Linked DNA regions of Homo sapiens: all the other regions are linked to region 1. Evidence: promoter capture Hi-C in human tissues and cell types (Jung and others, 2019). All regions are on one chromosome and are shown on one strand. The core of a region is centred on a gene start or on the middle of the fragment in contact, and the rest is flanking DNA. Distances in the headings are between cores, read along the strand shown.

Region 1 (3,965 bases), core at 1,078-3,577:
AGGTGGGGAGCAGGGAAGATGGGGAGGGGGTGGGGGGGGGAGATGGGGCCAGCAGAGATCTTCACCCAGATTTTTGATTCATAGAGCAAAAAGCCTTCTGTCTTATTTTTTCATTCCTGAAAAGAAAGCTCTTTTCCTCCAAACACAGTCTTCCAAGCAGCACCCCCACCCCCAGCCCCATAGCTTGTCAGTAATTAGCCCCTAATGAGGACCAGGTGTCCTACCGACTTGAGGAGAAGGAAAAACAAGGGACAGCCGGGCGCGGTGGCTCACACCTGTAATCCCAGCACTTTGGGAGGCTGAGGCGGGCAGATCACGAGGTCAGGAGTTCAAGACCAGCCTGGTCAACATGGTGAAACCCCATCTCTACTAAAAATACAAAAATTAGCCAGGCATGGTGGTGCACACCTGCAATCCCAGCTACTCAGGAGGCTGAGGCAGGAGAATCGCTTGAACCCGGGAGGCAGAGGTTGCAGTGAGCCGAGATCGCGCCATTACACTCCAGCCTGGGCAACAGAGCGAGACTCTGTCTCAAAAAAAAAAAAAAAAAAAACAAGGGACAAATTGTGGAATCAATGCCTTTACCGCCACTGAGGCCAGCCTAGCACAGCCTCCATCCCAGGCCTCCTAGGGCACCTGGATGGAAGCTCTTAGGTTTGCCAAAATCCCTACAGAACAGCAGCAATTGGTTTCTTAGTCAACTACAGCAGGCATTTATTGTACACCTACTGTATGCAGCAGCCTCTGGAGGAGAAAGTTCAAGCTTTACAACAAGGGAGGTGATATGTGTAAAGCTGTATGTAAACCATGAATCACAGGGAATGTGCAGGATGACAGAGACGGAGGAGAAAGGATAAGCATTTATTGAGCACCTACCGTATGCCAGGCCCTGGGCTAGGGACTTGAGGTACATTAAAGCATTTAATCCTCATTAACCCAATTTTACAAATGAGGAAACTGCCACAGAGAGGTGAGGGGACTTGTTCAAGGTTTGACAACCAAGTAAGGGAGCTGGGATTTGAACCCAGGTCTCTCTGGTTTCAAGACCAATACTCATAACCCCCACATGGACCAGGCACCATCACACCTGAGCACTGCACTTAGGGTCAAAGACCTGGCCCCACATCTCAGCAGCTATGTAGACTAGCTCCAGTCCCTTAATCTCTCTCAGCCTCAGTTTCTTCATCTGCAAAACAGGTCTCAGTTTCGTTGCAAAGTATGAAGTGCTGGGCTGTTACTGGTCAAAGGGAAGAGCTGGGAAGAGGGTGCAAGGTGGGGTTGGGCTGGAGATGGGCTGGAGCAGATAGATGGAGGGACCTGAATGGAGGAAGTAAACCAAGGCCCGGTAACATTGGGACTGGACAGAGAACACGCAGATCCTCTAGGCACCGGAAGCTAAGTAACATTGCCCTTTCTCCTCCTGTTTGGGACTAGGCTGATGTTGCTGCCTGGAAGGGAGCCAGCAGAAGGGCCCCAGCCTGAAGCTGTTAGGTAGAAGCCAAATCCAGGGCCAGATTTCCAGGAGGCAGCCTCGGGAAGTTGAAACACCCGGATTCAGGGGTCAGGAGGCCTGGGCTTCTGGCACCAAACGGCCAGGGACCTACTTTCCACCTGGAGTCTTGTAAGAGCCACTTTCAGCTTGAGCTGCACTTTCGTCCTCCATGAAATGGGGGAGGGGATGCTCCTCACCCACCTTGCAAGGTTATTTTGAGGCAAATGTCATGGCGGGACTGAGAATTCTTCTGCCCTGCGAGGAAATCCAGACATCTCTCCCTTACAGACAGGGAGACTGAGGTGAGGCCCTTCCAGGCAGAGAAGGTCACTGTTGCAGCCATGGGCAGTGCCCCACAGGACCTCGGGTGGTGCCTCTGGAGTCTGGAGAAGTTCCTAGGGGACCTCCGAGGCAAAGCAGCCCAAAAGCCGCCTGTGAGGGTGGCTGGTGTCTGTCCTTCCTCCTAAGGCTGGAGTGTGCCTGTGGAGGGGTCTCCTGAACTCCCGCAAAGGCAGAAAGGAGGGAAGTAGGGGCTGGGACAGTTCATGCCTCCTCCCTGAGGGGGTCTCCCGGGCTCGGCTCTTGGGGCCAGAGTTCAGGGTGTCTGGGCCTCTCTATGACTTTGTTCTAAGTCTTTAGGGTGGGGCTGGGGTCTGGCCCAGCTGCAAGGGCCCCCTCACCCCTGCCCCAGAGAGGAACAGCCCCGCACGGGCCCTTTAAGAAGGTTGAGGGTGGGGGCAGGTGGGGGAGTCCAAGCCTGAAACCCGAGCGGGCGCGCGGGTCTGCGCCTGCCCCGCCCCCGGAGTTAAGTGCGCGGACACCCGGAGCCGGCCCGCGCCCAGGAGCAGAGCCGCGCTCGCTCCACTCAGCTCCCAGCTCCCAGGACTCCGCTGGCTCCTCGCAAGTCCTGCCGCCCAGCCCGCCGGGATGCAGTCCGGGCCGCGGCCCCCACTTCCAGCCCCCGGCCTGGCCTTGGCTTTGACCCTGACTATGTTGGCCAGACTTGCATCCGCGGGTGAGTGAGGGGCCTGAGACCCCGACCCAGCCTGGCGGAACTAGAGGGGTTCCTCCGGGAGGGAAAAGGGACAGGAGGAGCCAGAAGTGGCCCCCAGATCGGGAGTCAAGCAGGCTGCGCTTCTCCCACCACTAGCTGGGGTCGCCAGGGGTTCAATCCTGGGGCGGACACGGGACCCCGCTATCTCAGGTTATGGGGTTTCTAGCTAGCCAAGGCTGTCCAGTTAGGGGCGGGAGCAGGCGCCCCAGGCATGGATTGCCTAGGGCGTGGCTTTGCCCGTTTGGATTGTCTGAGACACCAGTGGGGCCACCCCAATGCTGGCCGAGCTTTGTTTGCCAGGCAAGTTTGGGGTGAGTATGTTGGGGTCCAAAGGGACCCGGCGACAGTGAGAAGTGGGTCCTCCAGCTTCAGATGCCCTGGGCCAGGAATGGGGAGTGCTACAAGGTGGGAAACGAGGAATGAGCCACCCTGCCCTCCCCTGTGAGGAGCACCCCCACACCCCTCCAGCTGCCCCCCAGCTCTGCCCCTTCTTTCCTCCCCTTGCTTCCTTGCAGATCCGTCTATCTGCCACCTCCCCTCTTCATTCTCTCCTCTCCCTCCTCCTGTTGGTGACAGGCAGGACCCCCCACCCACTACCCACTCTCAGCCTCCTAGAGGGAGAGCTGGTGCCCCTCAGCGGGGCTTGTCCTACAGATAGCTCTGGACCACCCCCTGCCACACCTCCTCATCCCAGCACTGATGCCTGACCCAGCAGAGGCTGAATGGAAGTTCGCTTTCCGAGAAGTGCTGGGATATATCCCCTCTCTGTCCCGATGCCAGAAACCCCAACATGACAGCATTCTTCCTTCAGCGAAGGCAGCTCTAGTTATGCCATAAGAACTGTGGCCTTAGGGCCCATCCATCATCACTACCCACGTGTGATTCAGTGCTTCAGCTACACCTTCGAGATCATTCCCAAGAGCAACATGGAGCAAAGGCAGGGCCTGAGCCTCCTTCACAAGGGCCCAGGCCACACCCTTCTCTCCTTCAGATGGAGAAGCCAGCTCTAAAAGAGGGCATCACATGGTTCCCAGAAGGGAAGTGAGTCAAGGGAGGACCCCCGCGGGGTGAATCAGGGCTGGATCTCCAGGCTCCCTGTTCCTGCAGGGACCAGATCCCCTAAGATCTCAGGGCCTGAGGGATGGGCTGGGCCGCCAGGGAGATGGGAAGGGAGCATCCAAGGTGACCAGGGTGGTCAGCTCATTCAGGCCCCAGCCTCCAGCCAAGGAGGGATTCCAGTACCCCCACCTCCTTGGGCTTCAACTGAGAGCCATTCTCAAATACCTTCTTAGCCCTGACAGCATGCAGGCATGGTGCTAGGCTCGCAGGGGCACGGGAAATTGAGAGGCTGAACTGAGACTCATTCAGGAGGCAGAAAGGCAAATTAAATCTCAAACAGCAAAAATCTGGATGAAAAGT
Region 2 (3,965 bases), core at 637-3,136, 420 kb before region 1:
AACGACTAAAAACTGTCCTGCCCACATACCCACAGCAACCCTGTCCAGAGATGCTGGACTAGAAAACTTCCCCTTAGCTTCCTGGGGCACCATCTTCGGTCCATCCAGTATGTCCTTGACCCTATCTCATCCTGTAGAATCTGAGGGGCTCAGTCTTGTGCCTCTGTCCAAACAATGAGAGTTAGAAAGGAACAATTGTATAATGGCAAGGAGTAAAATTTAAATATTGGAGGGAACATTGAGGGTCAGTGCCCAGGGTAATGAGGGCCCAGTTTTAATACTGAGATGGCAGTCCTCTCTGCTGTAAACTGCTCTTGGGCTCTGGTGCTGGTTTGAATGCCAACTTCTGCAGGGCTCCTCCTGAACCTCAGTTTCTCCAATCAGAACATGAGGAGGTAAAATAGAATATTCCTAAGGGCTGTTCCTTCTCACTATGATCTGACATAGGTGACAGACATATGGAGAAGATCGGAGGAGCTCCAGAGTGACAAGTCCCTATACTTGTGTGGGAGCTCTAAATTCTAAACTTTTCCAACAACCATTGAAATCTAACCAATAATACACAGCTGCAGGCCGGGCATGGTGGCTCACGCCTGTAATCCCAACACTTTGGGAGGCCAAGGCAGGTGGATCACCTGAGGTTAGGAGTTCAAGACCAGCCTGACCAGCATGGTGAAACCGTCTCTACTAAAAATACACAAAATTAGCCGGATGTGGTGGCGCATGCCTGTAATCCCAGCTACTTGGGAGGCTGAGGCAGGAGAATCGCTTGAACCCGGGAGATGGAGGTTGCAGTGAGCTGAGATTGGGCCATTGCACTCCAGCCTGGGCAACAAGAGTGAAACTCTATCTCAAAAGAAAAAAAAAAAAACCCACAGCTGCAGTTATCCCGGAAGTTCAGAGATTAATATACCTACTTCTCTTTTGCTTGGATTATCCGATAACTAAGGAGAAAGTGAGATTTTTATTTGAATGCCACAGCCTGGCTGCCTAGACCACCTGAATTCACCAAGTAATTTCTAATGCCCAATTCTCATTTGTAGGCTTTATTTAAACCTTTGCTTTTTGCTACCTGTCAAGCACAGATAATAGTACTCATCATTGCTTGACATTTACAAAATGACTCAAGATCTTTAAACGAAACAGAATGTGAGGTTTCAGTGTTTCTCAACAATTGATATAAAAGTGTGGGTGTTTATGGGGGGAATCCCAGCTCCCCCAGATGGTTCCCAAAAAGCAGATGCTGGGTTGAATTTGTTCTCTTTTCTTCTGGACTACTCAAGGAAACTATGGATCACTGAACTAAACAAAGAGAACTTTCTGATCAATAAGAGAAATTAACAGGATATGGCTCTAAGAAGTGCGAACAAACTATTTCTGGCTTTCCAACGTTTCTGCCTCACGTTCCCCTTCCATCAGTGGTCCCAGCGGCCCGGCACCATCTCTGGCCATGTGGTGGTCACCTCAGCAGAGAGACAAGGCCCCCTCTGGTGAGGTGAAGGTCCCACAGTGTATAGGCTATATTTAGCCTACACCCTTTCCTTAGATACAAAGAACGGTATGGTAGACAAAATGTATTAATGGTTCTATTCTTTACCTCTCCTTGAGCCTATGCCCTTTGGCATATAACTTCATAGCTCCTTCCATCAAAAATGCTGAACGCTTGATTCAGCATTCAGCCATGTGACTTGTTTTTGCCAACGAGATGTTAGATGGTAGAAGAGCCAGGTTAGACACCAGCAGAGGCATGAAAAGGCTCTGTGAATTTCTGCCTGTGCTCTTGTACCTCCAACATCACCCATGAGAGGGTGAGCAGCCTAGCCTACTGGAGGATGAGAGACGTGGAGCAGAGTCCAGCCTCCTCTAGATCAGCTGACAGCCAGCTATCACCCACATTTAAAAGTCATCCCAGCCAAGATCAGAGGAGCTGTCTAGCTGAGTACCCCAGACATGTGAGCAATAAACATTTTTTGTTGTATTCTACTAAGGTTCTATGGTTGGTTGTTACACAGCATTACTGTGTCAATAGATAACAGATTCATACTCCAGATGACAGAGCAGTCAGGCCCATATCTAGATAGGCCAGGACAGTGTGGTGTAATAGAATGAGTGCTGTTTTCATCTTAGTATTCATACCAACCAGTTGCAAAACACAAAATAAGTGACCACCTTGCAGGTGCTTGGTAAGATTAAGTGATTGGTTCATATGGCATCTCAGGTTTTGGGAAATGAAAGCAATTCTCCCTTAAGAATTCTGCCCCGGGTTTCATAAAGCCTGGTTTTAGAAACCCTCTCAGATTTCTAAATTTCCTTGCGATTCCCATTTTATTAATTCACCTTCAGCGCTTCCTAATCTTGTCTTGAGTCTTGCTTTTGAAAGGTTTCTCCATTTTCTGTGGCCTCCTGCTAAAGGAAATGTACATAGTGGCTGCCTAAATTAGAAGATCTTCATCTTCTGGGAGATTTATAGCCACAGTTCTGGATCCAGAGAGCAGATCCCAGCATTACTTACTGTGGATTGGTCATGTTGAAAGATGGAGCCACAGCCATGGGTTTTCTTGGTGTTTAGTGGGGCTCAGCTGTCCTGAAGCCTGCTGTCAGCATTTCCAAGCGTGGGTTCTACAAGACACATACAAATATAGTGCCCTGAAAACAAAAATAGGAACTTATTACCTTCAGATGCCAAACCAAAGTCCTCCTAAGCTCATCTAAAAATGGGAGTCCTTAGAACTTTCTTCCATCTAGCACTTTTCTTCAAAGTAATGTTGAATAGATTCTTACAATTACCCTATGGAAGAGTAATAATAAGCATAATTTCTCTTTTTTAGATGAGGAAACAAGGCCAGAGTGACAAAATGACTTTTTTGTGTCACAGAGATGGTAGAAGAGCCAGGTTAGTGCCCAGGTTCTCTGACTTCTCATCCACAGTTCTTCCCACTAAACTGCTGTGCCCCCCAAAACAGCATCCCTTTATACTGCAGCTTTGAGAGGCTTCAAAATAAGGTTTGTCTAAAAAATCTCAAATGTTTTCCATGTATTTTTTCTCCCACTTCCCTTTCCCTTCCAGTAGTTCTGTCTTTTCATGCAGGCTTTTCTCTTCTTCTCCTCTCAGCTCATTCCGAGAGCGGAGAGAAAGAATAGATCCTGGAGCTGGGCTGCCACAGTCAGAGCCTCACTCCCACCTACTAGCTCTGTGACCTGGAGTGAGCTACTTACACCCCCATCCTCAGTTTCCCCACCTGAAAAATGGGGATAATAACAGAACTAACTACATGAGGTCATGCCTGTAAGACACTAGCATAGCGTCTGACACTTAGTAAGTACTATATAAGTGTTGGATTTCATTATTATTATTTATTTTATTTATTTATTTTTTTTAGATGGAGTTTCACTCTTGTCACCCAGGCTGCAGGGCAATGGCATGATATCAGCTCACTGCAACCTCGCCTCCTGGGTTAAAGCGATTCTCCTGCCTCAGCCTCCCAAAGTAGCTGGGGTTACAGGGATGCACCACCACGTCCAGCTAATGTTTTTGTATTTTTAGTAGAGACGGGGTTTCTCCATGTTGGTCAGGCTGGTCTCGAATTACTAACCTCAGGTGATCCGCCCGCCTCGGCCTCCCAAAGTGCTGGGATTACAGGCGTGAGCCACCGCGCCCGGCCTGATTTATTTATTTATTTATGTTTAGACAGGGTCTCACTCTGTCACCCAGGCTGGAGCACAGTGGTGCGATCTTGGCTCACTGCAGCCTTGACCTCCTGGGCTCAAGTGACCCTCCACCTAAGCCTCAGCTGGGATTACAGGCACGTACTACCACACTCAGCTAATTTTTTGGACTTTTGGTAGAGTCGGGGTTTTGCTATGTTGCCCAGGCTGGTCTCAAACTCCTGAGCTCAAGTGATCAACCTACCTCAGCCTCCCAAAGTGCTGGGATTACAGGTGTGAGCCACTGTGCCTGGCCAGTA
Region 3 (3,965 bases), core at 643-3,142, 270 kb after region 1:
GGTAACATCAGTGTCACCGAAGTCTGTATTGCCCAGATTGGTCTCAAACTCCTGGGCTCAAGCAGTCTGCCCACCTCGGCCTCCCAAAGTGCTGGGATTACAGGCCTGAGCCACTGCACCTGGTCTGGACTCAATTTTAGTTTTTGAGTTTTGCTTTTTTTTTTTAAAGCAGTACTAACTACTTGTAAAGATGTATATTTCATGACTTTTATTTATTGGAGGTCTTCAAAACAGCAAAGAGAAAATTTATTTTTATTTTTAATTTTATTTTTGAGATGCGGTCTTGTTCCATCCCCAGGCTGGAGTGCAGTAGCGCGATCTTGGCTCACTGCAACCTCCGCCTCCTGGGTTCAACTGGTTCTCCTGCCTCAACCTCCCGAGTAGCTGGGATTACAGGTGTGTACCACCATACCCAGCTAATTTTTGTATTTTTAGTAGAAATGGGGTTTCACCATATTGGCCAGGCTGGCCTCAAACTTCTTATCTCTCGAAGTGCTGCGATTACAGGCATGAGTCACCATGCCCAGCCTGAAAATTTATTTTTTTTCCAAAGGAATAAACTCATTTTAGCTATTACCACTTGTACATCGAAACAATGTTGTGGAGTTTTACTGATCTTATTTTTCCTGTATATTGAAATGTTTTGGTATTTCATCATCCTAGGAATTATTTCATCATTACTCATCAATTCTCAAATATGCTAAAGAGGACTAAAATAATATGACAAAGGGAGAATTATAGAATTGCTTAAAAGGATATGCAGTAGTGAAATAAATCATTAGTTTTACACTTCAGTTTTTAGAGATGGGGCCTCGCTTTGTTGCCCAGGCCGAAGGGCAGTGGTATGATCATAGCTCTCTGCAGCCTCAAACTTCTGGGCTCAAGTGATCATCCCTCCTAAGCATCCTCGGTAGCTGGGACTATAGGTGTGCACCGCAGCCCTTCAGTTTTCTTATTGCTTTTCCCAAAACTTACAGCAACTTTTTTTTTCTTTTTGGATACAGGGTCTCACTCTGTCACCCAGGCTGGAGTGCAGTGGCGCAATCTCAGTTCACTGCAACCTTCGCCTCCCAGACTCAAGCAATCTCACCTCAGCCCTCCAAGTAGCTGGGACTACAGGCATGTGCCACCACACCTGGCTAATTTTTGTATTTTTTTTGTAGAGAGAACGTTTCGCCATGTTGTCTAGGCTAGTCTCGAACTCCTGGGCTCAAACAATCCACCCACCTTAGCCTCCCAAAGTGCTGGGATTCCAGGCATGAGCCAGCATGCCCAGCCTACAGCATCTTTCAAGAAAGTATAAAAGAAGTTGGGAGATACCATCTTAAACATTATGTAAGATGTTAACATTTGGAGAATCTAGGTGAAGGAGTACATGGTAATTTTTATACTATTTTTCAACTTTTAAGCTTTCATTGGACATATTTAAAAATCCATAGTTTTTCATCTTCCTCCTATAATGGCAAAGAGAAGAAAACTGACTACAGAAGACATTTCAGAGGAACTAGTAGATGAATGCTGTGTGACAGTAGTACTCTAGACTGTTAGGATGACGGTAAAGTTATATAAACCAAGTTGTAAAATAAGAGTCTTCAGCCAGGCATGGTGGCGTGCACCTGTAATCCTAGCATCTCGGGAGGCTGAGATGGGAGGATCACTTGAGCCCAGTACTTCAAAACCAGGCTGGGCAACATAGCAAGATTCTGTCTCCACCCATATACATATGTGACTGTACCCTAGATGAGTTTAGAATGTGATTTTTTTTTTTTTTTTTTTTTTGAGACAGAGTTTTGCTCTTATTGCCCAGGCTAGAGTGCCATGGCACAATCTCGGCTCACCGCAACCTCCGCCTCCTGGGTTCAAGGGATTCTCCTGCCTTAGCCTCCCAAGTAGCTGGGATTACAGGCATGTACCACCATGCCTGGCTAATTTTTTGTATTTTTAGTAAAAGATGGGGTTTCTCCATGTTGGTCAGGCTGGTCTTGAACTCCCAACCTCAGGTGATCCACCTGCCTTGGCCTCCCAAAGTGCTGGGATTACAGTCGTGAGCCACCATGCCCAGCGGTGAATTTTTTTTTTTTTTTTTTTTTTTTTAAAGATGGGATCTATCTCACTATGTTGCCCAGGCTGGATTTAAATTCCTGAGCTCAAGCTGTTCTCCTGCTTCAGTTCCCCCAAGTAACTGGCACTATAGGCATCCAGCTAGAATGTGATTTTCTTTTTATAAGAATCAGAACTGGGCTGGGTGCAGTGGCATATGCCTGCAATCCCACCTTCTTGGGAGGCTGAGGTGGGAGGATCGCTTGAGCCCAGACGTTCGAGACCAGCCTGGGCAACATAGTGAGACCCCATTTCTATTTTTAAGAAATGAAAAAAAAAAACAATCAAAACCACTGCACTTTGCCAAAAAGATGTATGATAGTATTCTTTCATCTTTCAAGATATTTGTACACCAAAACTTAGTTGATGCAGTTTGTAAGTGGACAGGTGCCAAAGTTACGTATATGTATAAAGATGGTTAGAAGGAAAAATTATGTAAAAATGAAAAAAAAAATCAGTTTTTTTTTTTTTTTTTTTTTTTTTTTTTTTTTGAGACAGAGTCTCACTCTTGTTACCCAGGCTGGAGTGCAGTGGCATGGTCTTTGCTCACTGCAACCTCTGCCTCCTGGGTTCAAGCGATTCTCCTGCCTCAGCCTCCCGAGTAGCTGGGACTACGGGTGCGTGCCACTGCACCCAGCTAATTTTTTGTAGTTTTGGTACAGATGGGGTTTCACCGTTTTAGCCAGGATGGTCTCAATCTCCTGACCTCGTGATCCACCCGCCTCGGCCTCTGAGAGTGCTGGGATTAGAGGCAAGAGCCACACGCTCAGCCTGGATTGTTCATTCTGATTGACATTTATTAGTCTAAAAATGAGAATGCTTATGATTATGGAGCAAAGAAGATGACTGTTCTCTCCAACAAAATTATGAAGTGAGTTTTCAAAGTATTTCATTTGATGGGCAGAAAGGGAAAAAAAGACCCAGAGGTGATAAGCTAGAACCTTACTAGAGCTGTACCTGAAACCTGGAATCAAAATTTACAAAATGGAAGCCAAGCGTGGTGGTGTGTACCTGTTTACAGAGTGGAAGCCAAGTGTAGTGGTATACACCAGCTACTCGGGAGGCTGAGGCAGGAGGATCGCTTGTGGCCAGGAGTTCAAGACCGGCCTGTGCAATGTAGGGAGACCCTGTCTCTAAAAAAAATTTTTTTCTTATTAGCCACTCTGTAGTCCCAGCTACTTAGGAAGCTGAGGTGGGAGGATTGTTTGAGCCCAGCAGTCTGTAATGAGCTATGATCATGCCACTGTACTCTAGCCTGGGCAATAGAGCAAGACCCTGTTTTTTTTTTATTTTGTTTTTTGTTTTTTTGAGACGGAGTCTGGCTCTGTTGCCCACGCTGGAGTGTAGTGGCGAGATCTCGGTCAACCTCCACCTCCCAAGTTCAAGCAATTCTACTGACTCAGCTTCCTGAGTAGCTGGGATTATAGGCACACGCCACCATGCCCGGCTAATTTTTTTGTATTTTTAGTAGAGATGGGGTTTCACCATGTTGGCTAGGCTGGTCTTGAGCTCCTCACCTCACGTGATCTACCCGACTTGGCCTCCCAAAGTACTGAGATTACAGGCGTGAGCCACTGCACCTGGCCAACCCTGTTTCTTTTTCTTGTTCTTTTTTTTTTTTTTTTTTTTGAGACAGAGTCTTCGCTCTGTCACCCAGGCTGGAGTGCAGTGGCGCGATCTCAGCTCACTGCAAGCTCTGCCTTCCAGGTTCACGCCATTCTCCTGCCTCAGCCTCCCGAGCAGCTGGGACTACAGGCGCCTGCCACCACGCCTGGCTAATTTTTTGTATTTTTGGTAAAGACGGGGCTTCACCTTGTTAGCCAGGATGGTCTCGATCTCCTGACCTCGTAATCCGCCTGCCTTGG

What was found. The method cuts DNA at HindIII sites, captures the fragments that hold promoters and counts their contacts. A contact is called where the count stands out against the background at its distance.
Region 2: a fragment that was not itself captured here is called in contact with the fragment with the promoter of CSPG4 in region 1 in 1 of the 25 tissues and cell types used here (spleen).
Region 3: a contact is called between a fragment that was not itself captured here and the fragment with the promoter of CSPG4 in region 1, in 1 of the 25 tissues and cell types used here (lymphoblastoid cells).

What each region holds. Positions count from the first base shown.
Region 1 is chr15:75,711,210-75,715,174 of GRCh38, reverse strand. It overlaps CSPG4 (chondroitin sulfate proteoglycan 4), which reads left to right and starts at 2,327. Exons shown (of 10, transcript NM_001897.5): 1 at 2,327-2,507. The coding sequence starts at 2,420. The HindIII fragment of the contact is 20,321 bases long and covers 1-3,965 here.
Region 2 is chr15:76,132,849-76,136,813 of GRCh38, reverse strand. TMEM266 (transmembrane protein 266) reads right to left here. Exons shown (of 11, transcript NM_152335.5): 2 at 2,513-2,646. The coding sequence starts at 2,526. Among named protein-coding and RNA genes, the nearest start is that of TMEM266, 75 kb to the right of the region's middle. The HindIII fragment of the contact is 8,709 bases long and covers 1-3,965 here.
Region 3 is chr15:75,440,747-75,444,711 of GRCh38, reverse strand. All of the region lies in intron 1 of SIN3A (SIN3 transcription regulator family member A), which reads left to right. Among named protein-coding and RNA genes, the nearest start is that of SIN3A, 9.0 kb to the left of the region's middle. RefSeq lists a silencer at 3,560-3,709. The HindIII fragment of the contact is 9,103 bases long and covers 1-3,965 here.